Linked DNA regions of Homo sapiens: region 1 is linked to region 2. Evidence: promoter capture Hi-C in 16 types of primary human blood cells and fetal thymus (Javierre and others, 2016). All regions are on one chromosome and are shown on one strand. Each heading gives the region's core, a stretch centred on a gene start or on the middle of the fragment in contact. The rest is flanking DNA. Distances are from core to core; before and after follow the strand shown.

Region 1 (4,344 bases), core at 300-2,799, 200 kb after region 2:
AGGAGAATTGCTTGAACCCGGAAGGCAGAGGTTGCAGTGAGCCTAGATCATGCCACTGCACTCCAGCTTGGGCAACAAGAGTGAAACTCCGTCTCAAAAAATAAATAAATATAAAAAAATAAAATATAAATATTATTGAGGGCCTGCTATGTGTCAAATGTGGTGGAGCGTCATTTATTCATTCAGTTTTTTCCAACAAATTTGTATATTGACCACCAACTATGTAGCAGGGAGAAATAGAGATTCAGTTCCTCGTTAGTTTCCAAACAATTTTATCAAATTCCTCCTATGTGCTGGGGATATTCATGCATTTATCCAACAAATATTTATTGAGCACCTACTAAAGGCCAGGGAACATATGGATTGGTCACTTGTTCATTTATTCAACATATTTTATTGAGTGTATACTACATCCTCACGAGATTAAGATTGTCACATCCTCTTTGCTACAACAAATTTGTTGCGTTCTTACTATGTGTCATGCAGTATTCTAGGCTCTGGGGATACAGTAGTAAAAAAAAAAAAAACAGTCCCCGGCCTTGGGGGGGATTTTTTTTTTTTTTTGACAAGGTCTCCCTCTGTTGCCTAGGTTGGAGTACTGTGGCATGATCATAGCTCACTGCAGCCTTGACCTCCTGGGTTCAAGTGGTCCTCCCACCTCAGCCTCCCAGGTAGCTGGAACTATAGGTGTGAGCCACCACATCCGGCCAATTTTTAATTTTTTTGTTGAGACCAGCCCAGGCTGGTCTCGAACTCCTGGCCTCAAGCAACCCTCCTACCTTGACCTCCCATAGTGCTGGGATTACAGACATGAGCCGTATGTCCAGCCCCTGCCCTTGTGAAGTTTATATTCTTGTGCAGTAATTTTTTAATCTTTTCTGACTGCAATCTATGGTAGGAAATCCTTTTTTTTTTGAGATACAGTCTTGCTCTGTCACCCAGGCTGGAGTGCAGTGGCATGATCTCAGTTCACTGCAAACTCTGCCTCCCAGGTTCAAGCAATTCTCCTGCCTCAGCCTCCTGAGTAGCTGGGATTACAGGCATGCGCCACCACGCCCGGCTAATTTTTTTGCATTTTTAGTAGAGACAGGGTTTCACCATATTGGACAGGCTGGTCTCCAACTCCTGACCTTGTGATCCACCTGCCTCGGCCTCCCAAAGTGCTGGGATTACAGGTGTAAGCCACCACACCCAGCCGAGGAAATCCTTTTTACATTGAGACCTGATACATGTGTTCAATCTGAAATTATATTCACCTATTCCCGAAAGAGAAGTTTCACATTGCCTTACTCTGTGCCATGCATTCTGTTCTTTTCTGTCCTGTACTGCTCTAGTTAACTACAAAAGAAGAAGTGTGTGCTTCTCATCCTCTCAACCTTGGCTGCACATCAGGACAACTAGGAGGCTTTTAAAAACCCCAGTGCTCAGGCCCAACCCCAGATCAATTGAATTAGAACCTGTAAAGGCAAAACCTGGGCTTAAGTCTCTTTTAAAGCTCCCCAGGCATGCCAGTGTACAATTACAATGAGAACCTCTGCGTGAAACTGATTCATGAACGTCTGTCTGATGGGTTGGTTCCCACTATTTAAAAAACATTGTTCTGTGAAAGCAAACTGTTAAAGCTGAGTGATGGGTAGTTGGGGGTTTATTATACTGTAATATATGATTGGAGGTTTATTACACTGTAGTATATGATTGGAGGTTTATTACACTGTAGTATATGATTGGAGGTTTATTACACTGTAGTATATGATTGGAGGTTTATTACACTGTAGTATATGATTGGAGGTTTATTACACTGTAGTATATGATTGGAGGTTTATTACACTTTAGTATATGATTGGAGGTTTATTACACTGTAGTATATGATTGGAGGTTTATTACACTGTAGTATATGATTGGAGGTTTATTACACTGTAGTATATGATTGGAGGTTTATTACACTGTAGTATATGATTGGAGGTTTATTACACTGTAGTATATGATTGGAGGTTTATTACACTGTAGTATATGATTGGAGGTTTATTACACTGTAGTATATGATTGGAGATTTATTACACTGTAGTATATGATTGGAGGTTTATTACACTGTAGTATATGATTGGAGGTTTATTACACTGTAGTATATGATTGGAGGTTTATTATACTGTAGTATATGATTGGAGGTTTATTATACTGTAGTATATGATTGGAGGTTTATTATACTGTAGTATATGATTGGAGGTTTATTATACTGTAGTATATGATTGGAGGTTTATTATACTGTAGTATATGATTGGAGGTTTATTATACTGTAGTATATGATTTTTTTTTTTTTTGGTAGAGACAGGGTCTCCTTATGTTGCCCAGACTTGTCTTGAACTGCTGGGCTCAAGTGATCCTCCTGCCTCAGCCTCCTAAAGTGCTGGGATTACAGGCATGAGCCACAGTGCCCAGCCAAGTCCTTTTAAATGTTTATAGCAACATCATGTTGCACAGGAAGGTTTTAACAGCCCCTGAAAGTATTTTTGCCCCCCGTTTTTCTTTCCCCTTAACTTTTTTACAGTCAGTTCACAATTGCTCTATCAGGTTGGCTCAACAGAAGGCCCATTTTGCCTAGTTTCATGACATAGACAAAGCATACTCAAATATTCAAAATTTTATAAGCAAAGGTACAGGTTTTCCCATCAACCCTGCTTTCTAACTCCTTTATTTGTGTTAATTTAAATTGTTAAATTAAATTGTGTTAATTTAAATTGGGCTATATGCAAAAATAAAAGATACACAGCTCCTGTAAAAAAAATTCTGGCAACTGACAACACCTGTTATAGACATGTGCAAATAAGTGAGAGACAAACCTTTTGTCTGCTTTGAATAGCACTGACTCCTCAAGACATGCAAGGGGTCTGAGATTTGAAAGATATTTCAAATATCTATTTGATTAGGTCATGAATTTAGGCGAGGACTGGGTTGCAAATATGTTGGGAGACAGCAATCCCTTTCATAACAACATTCTCATTTTCAAAACTTCATATTCCTGAGGAATAAAATTTATTTTAAACCCAAAGACTGATTCCATCTTAGTTAAAATTAAAGAATGAAAATCTTAGTCCCGGCTGGGTATGGTGGCTCACACCTGTAATCCCAGCATTTTAGGAGGCCAAGGCAGGAGGATTGCTTGAATCCAGGAGTTTGAGATCCCCTGGGCAACACAGTGAGATCTCATCTCTACAAAAAATAAAAAACTTAGCCAGACATGGTGATGCATGCCTGTAGTCCTGGATACTCGGGAGGCTGAGGGGTGGATTACTTGAGCCCAGGAGGCAGAGGTTGCAGCGAGCTGTGATCACACCACTGCACTCCAGTCTGGGCGACAAGAGTGAGACTCTGTCTAAAAAAAAAAAAAAAAAAAAGAAAAAATCTTAGTCCCATGGCACAAAGGTATTTAATAAACCTTGAAAAACTCGTTGTGGACACAAGAGCTTTTGAAAATTCAAGACAAAGAGATCATACTTTATCCTTTGTTGAAAGAAAAAGAATGAAGATTAAAGATATTTACAAATCAGTTACCTTAAAGAGCACTAACCAAGTGGGTGAAGGTTCTATGGAAGTAAGATTACTAATTACTCCAATTCTTGTCACGAAAGTTGATTTCCGGGTAGTCTGTGGTTTCCTAATCACCTGCTAAAGGTTATAACCACAATCTTGAGACTGTACATGTTTGTTATAGGAAATGGCATTGGGTAGAATGTTTTTTGTGCAGAATTTTGTCTGTTCTGTAAAGTTGTAAGCTAGGTTTGCTGCATGAGACTGCATTTCTCATCATTGATGTTGTGTAATTAATTTGCTGTCATCCTCAATCTTGTTAAATTGGCTGAACCACAACAAAACAAAACTCTTGCTTAAGATAGGAAAGAATCTGTAGGCCTTTGTACAGATCTTTCCTCTGCAAAGATTTTATAAGCAAAATAAACAAGTGATTCTAATAGATTTATTTTTAAATGCCAGGCAGTTTTTTCCCTTAGGTCTTTTCTGGACCTAAAGTACAGAAATCCACCACGTGTATAGAACTTTGGCAGCCACTGCAGAGCGCCTGTGGGAAAATAGCATGTGACAAATTGTCCATTTGGGCAAATTGATTTTTGGCCAAATTGGTTTTTGGCAGGTTGCTTTTGGGGAATTGGACTGGCCAGAGGAGATGAGGGGGAAACAAAGTGGCTAGATTCCAGAAATTCCAGCGAGGTTTTTTTTTGAGATGGAGTTTTGCTCTGTTGCCCAGGCTGGAGTGCAATGGTGCGATCTTGGCTCACTGCAACCTCCATCTCATGGGTTCAAGCGATTCTCCTGCCTCAGCCTCCTGAGTAG
Region 2 (4,723 bases), core at 2,132-4,631:
TAATTCTAGCTACTCGGGAGGCTGAGGCAGGAGAATCACTTGAACCTGGGAGGCGGAGGTTGTAGTGAGCCAAGATCACGCCACTGCACTCCAGCCTGGGTGACGAGGCGAGACTGTCCCAAAAAATAAACCAACAAACAAGTGAAAGAAACAGCAGCCCAGATCCAAGGAGACAGGTTGACTGTGGATGGCCGAGGCCGCCCACCTCGGCCTCCCAAAGTGCTGGGATTACAGGCGTGACCCACCACGCCCAGCCAGAAAGCTCGTTTTGTAACCCACTTTTGGTAGCCATGTACGTAGGCAGCTTGGACAATATCTGTGGGTCCACTTGGAGGGAAGGAGGCCAGAAGGCTTGAGGGACATCTGAGTGGCATGGAGGTGACAAGGCTCTGGGAGGGCAGCAGACACTCTTGAACGCCAAGGCATGGTCAATGCCTCGTGCAGTGAGCAGCGACTCTGTGTCAGGCACTTCTCTGAACTCATCCCACGTACGAACTCATTCGCTTCCCACAGCAACCCTCCGAGGTACGCCCTATCATCATCCGCATTGCAGAGATGAGGAAACTGAAGCACAGAGAAGTTAAGTGATGTGCCCAAAGACACACAGGTGTAGGTGGCAGAGCTGGGATTGGACCCCAGGTGCTGTGGCTCCTAATCCCGGCAGGCTGGAAGCACTCCCATATGACTCCCGTGGGGCTGGGGTGGGCTTGGCAATCCTACACGAAGAAAACTTTTTTTTTTTTTTTTTTGAGATGGAGTCTCACTCTCTCACCCAGGCTGGAGTGCAGTGGCGTGATCTTGGCTCACTGCAACCTCCGCCTCCCAGGTTCAAGCGATTCTCCTGCCTCACCCTCCTGAGTAGCTGGGATTACAGGTGTGTACCACCATGCCCAGCTAATTTTTTTTTTTTTTTTTTTTTTTGAGACAGAGTCTTGCTCTGTCAACCAGGCTGGAGTGCAGTGGCGGCTCACTGCAAGCTTCGCCTCCTGGGTCCACGTCATTCTCCTGCCTCAGCCTCCCGAGTAGCTGGGACTACAGGTGGCCGCCACCATGCCTGGCTAATTTTTTGTATTTTTTGTAGTAGAGATGGGGTTTCACCGTGTTAGCCAGGATGGTCTTGATCTCCTGACCTCGTGATCTGCCTGCTTTGGCCTCCCAAAGTGCTGCTGGGATTACAGGCTTGAGCCACCGTGCCCGGCCTTTTTTTTTTTTTTTTTGAGATGGAGTTTTGCTCTCTTGCCGAGGCTGGAGTGCAGTGGTGCAGTCTTGGCTCACTGAAACCTCCACCTCTCGGGTTCAAGCGATTCTCCTACCTCAGCCTCCTGAGTAGCTGGGATTACAGGTGCGTGCCACCACACCCAGCTAATTTTTTTGTATTTTTTAGTAGAGATGGGGTTTCACCATGTTGGCCAGGCTGGTCTGGAACTCCTGACCCGCCCGTCTCGGCCTCCCAAAGTGCTGGGATTACAGGCGTAGTAAACTACCGCGTCCAGCCTAATTTTTGTATTTTTAATAGAGATGGTGTTTCACCATGTTGGCCAGGCTGGTCTTGAACTCCTGGCCTCAAGTGTTCTGCCCACCTCAGCCTCCCAAAGTGCTGGGATTACGGGCATGAGCCACCATGCCCGGCCCTGTTTTGGGGGGTTTTTTGAGATGCAGTCTTGCCCTGTTGCCCAGGCTGGAGTGCAGTGGCACAATCTCGGCTCACTGCAACCTCCGCCTCCCAGATTCAAGCGGTTCTCCTGCCTCAGCCTTCTGAGTAGCTGGGATTACAGGTGCCCGCAACTATGTCCGGCTAATTTTTGTATTTTAGTAGAGACGGAGTTTCACTACATTGGCCTGGCTGGTCTCGAACTCCTGACCTCAGGTGATCTGCCTGCCTCGGCCTCCCAAAGTGCTGGGATTACAGGCATGAGCCACCACGCCCAGCCAGAAAGCCTGTTTTGTAACCCACTTTTGGTAGCCGTGTACGTGGGTGGCTTGGACAATATTTGTGGGTCCACTTGGAGGGAAGAAGGCCAAAAGGCTTGAGGGACATCTGAGTGGCGTGGAGGTGACAAGGCTCTGGGAGGGCAGCAGACACCCTCAACGAGGGTGGAAGGTCTGCTGGGACCAGCACTGCTGAGGCTCTGGCATCTCCGTACCTGTTTCTCCCATTTCCTCCAATGGCTCCAGAGTCCTTTGGGGGAAATACTGCTCCATCCAGACTCTGAGTGGCGTGGGCCAGGGCAGGGCATCATGGTCACCAGATGGCTCCCAGCACAGGAGAGGTACAGAGCCATCCCTCCAGGGTCAGCCTCCCTGGGCAAGCAGGCTGAGTCTACCTTGTCCGGGAGGGGAGGAGGCGCATCCTGAGGGCTTAGGGGGCGTGAGCGGAGGGGAGCTCAGGGTCCCTCGGTGGATGATGGAGGAGCCACATATGGGTTACAGGGACAGACAGAAAGATGGAGAGGAAGAGACAGGGAGGCAGACACAAGGTACACTGACAGGGTCTGAAGGAGGAGGGGCTGGGGGCCTGGACTCCTGGGTCTGACAGGTACAGAGAGGAACAGACACACGCTGAAAGAGACACAAAGAGAGAGGGGACAGGCATAGTGATTCACGCCTGTAATCCCAACACTTTGGGAGGCCAAGCGGGGAGGATCACTTGAGCCCAGGAGTTCGAGACCAGTCTGGGCAACAAAGTGAGATCCCCGCCCCATCTCTACAAAAAAAAAAAAAAAAAAAAAAAGAGGGTGGGGTGGGGAGAGGGGTGGAGTTGGGGAAATACAGAGACACAAATATTGCCAGAAACAAAAAACAAGAAAGGGCCAGGCACAGTAGCTCACATCTGTAATCCCAGCTCTCTGGGAGGCTGCTGAAGCAGGAGGATCACTTGAGGCCAGCAGTTCAAGACCAGCCTGGGGAACATATGGGACCGCCCCCCGCCACCCCTCTGTCTCTACTTTAAAAAAAATTTTTTTTAATTAACAAAACCTGACCAGGCACAGTGGCTCACGTCTGTAATCCCAGCACTTTGGGAGGCCAAGGTGGGCGGATTGCTTGAGGCCAGGAGTTCAAGACCAGCCTGGTCAACATGGTAAAATCCCTTCTCTAACAAAAAATACAAAAATTAGCTGGGCATGGTGACACGAGCCTGTAATCCCAGCTACTTGGGAGGCTGAGGCAGGAGAATCACTTGAACCTAGAAGGCGGAGGTTGCAGTGAGCTGAGATCGTGCCACTGCACTCCAGAAACTGATGGAGAAGAAACATGAAGGCGGGGAGAGAGAAACTGTCAGAGGGAGGGGGAGAGAGGCAGTCTGAGAGATAGAGACACCGAGGTAAACCCGCCTCCTTCCCCAGCCCCACAGGCATAAGTAGGCAGAAGCTCACCCCCACACTGACCTCCTTCTTGGTGCTCTGACAGCGGCAGCCGGTCCTCCCTCAGCTCTGCCCGCCTTCTCTCCTGCTGCTGGCCAAGCCCATTAAGCTGCTACCTTGGCCACAACTGAAGGCCCCACGCCCTGGGAAGAAAGCTACTGAAGAGGCGTCCCTGCTCCCCAGCACCCCAAACCATCAATTAATATTAACGAGGGAAGGCTCCTCATTGCCTAAAGACCCCACTGGGGCTCCAATGGAAGAGAGGCCCCGCCCCCGTGACTCAGGAGGTTAAAGGGCCTGGTGCCGGCTTGTGAGGCCAGTGTCCAGATGGCATCCAGCAGTGGGAGGGTCACCATCCAGCTCGTGGATGAGGAGGCTGGGGTCGGAGCCGGGCGCCTGCAGCTTTTTCGGGGCCAGAGCTATGAGGCAATTCGGGCAGCCTGCCTGGATTCGGGGATCCTGTTCCGCGACCCTTACTTCCCTGCTGGCCCTGATGCCCTTGGCTATGACCAGCTGGGGCCGGACTCGGAGAAGGCCAAAGGCGTGAAATGGATGAGGCCCCATGTAAAGTGTGGCTGGGGTCTGGGCTCTGGGGTCTGAGGGAGGAGGGGCTGGAGGCATGGACTCCTGGGTCTGAGGAAGGAAGGCTGGGGGCCTGGACTCCCTGGTCTGAGGGAGGAGGGGCTCGAGACCTGGACTCTTAGGTCTGAGGGAGGAGGGGCTGGGCCTGGACTCCTGGGTCTGAGGGAGGAAGGGCTGGGCCTGGACTCTTGGGTCTGAGGGAGGAGGGGCTGGGGACCTGGACTCCTGGGTCTGAGGGAGGAGGGGGCTTGGACCTGGACTTCTGGATCTGAGGGAGGAGAGGCCAAGGCCTGGACACCTGGGTCTGAGGGAAGAGGGGGCTGGGGACCTGGACTCCGGGGTCTGAGGGAGGAGGGGCTGGACCTGGACTCCTGGGTCTGAGGGAGGAGGGGCTGGGGACCTGGATTCTTGGGTCTGAGGGAGGAGGGGCTCGGGACCTGGACTCCTGGGTCTGAGGGAGGAGGGGCTGGGCCTGGACTCCTGGGTCTGAGGGAGGAGGGGCTCGGGACCTGGACTCCTGGGTCTGAGGGAGGAGGGGCTGGGCCTGGACTCCTGGGTCTGAGGGAGGAGGGGCTCGGGACATGGACTCCTGGGTCTGAGGGAGGAGGGGCTGGGCCTGGACTCCCGGGTCTGAGGGAGGAGGGGGCTACCATGGGACTGGCTCAGCACAACTTCTGGAGACCCAGGGAAGCCATGCTCCTGCCCACAGGCTTCCAGGCCTTTCATGGGCTTGGAGGCCCTCACTCCTCTGGATGAGACCTTTCCTCGCTTTCTCAGGC

Evidence for each region. The method cuts DNA at HindIII sites, captures the fragments that hold promoters and counts their contacts. A CHiCAGO score of 5 or more calls a contact.
Region 1: a contact is called between a fragment that was not itself captured here and the fragment with the promoter of CAPN12 in region 2, in 1 of 17 cell types (erythroblasts). The highest score is 5.1, in erythroblasts.

Annotation. Positions count from the first base shown.
Region 1 is chr19:38,538,287-38,542,630 of GRCh38, reverse strand. All of the region lies in intron 84 of RYR1 (ryanodine receptor 1), which reads right to left. Among named protein-coding and RNA genes, the nearest start is that of MAP4K1-AS1, 56 kb to the left of the region's middle. The HindIII fragment of the contact is 8,158 bases long and covers 1-4,344 here.
Region 2 is chr19:38,743,132-38,747,854 of GRCh38, reverse strand. CAPN12 (calpain 12) reads left to right here and starts at 3,381. Exons shown (of 21, transcript NM_144691.4): 1 at 3,381-3,926. The coding sequence starts at 3,690. The HindIII fragment of the contact is 36,048 bases long and covers 980-4,723 here.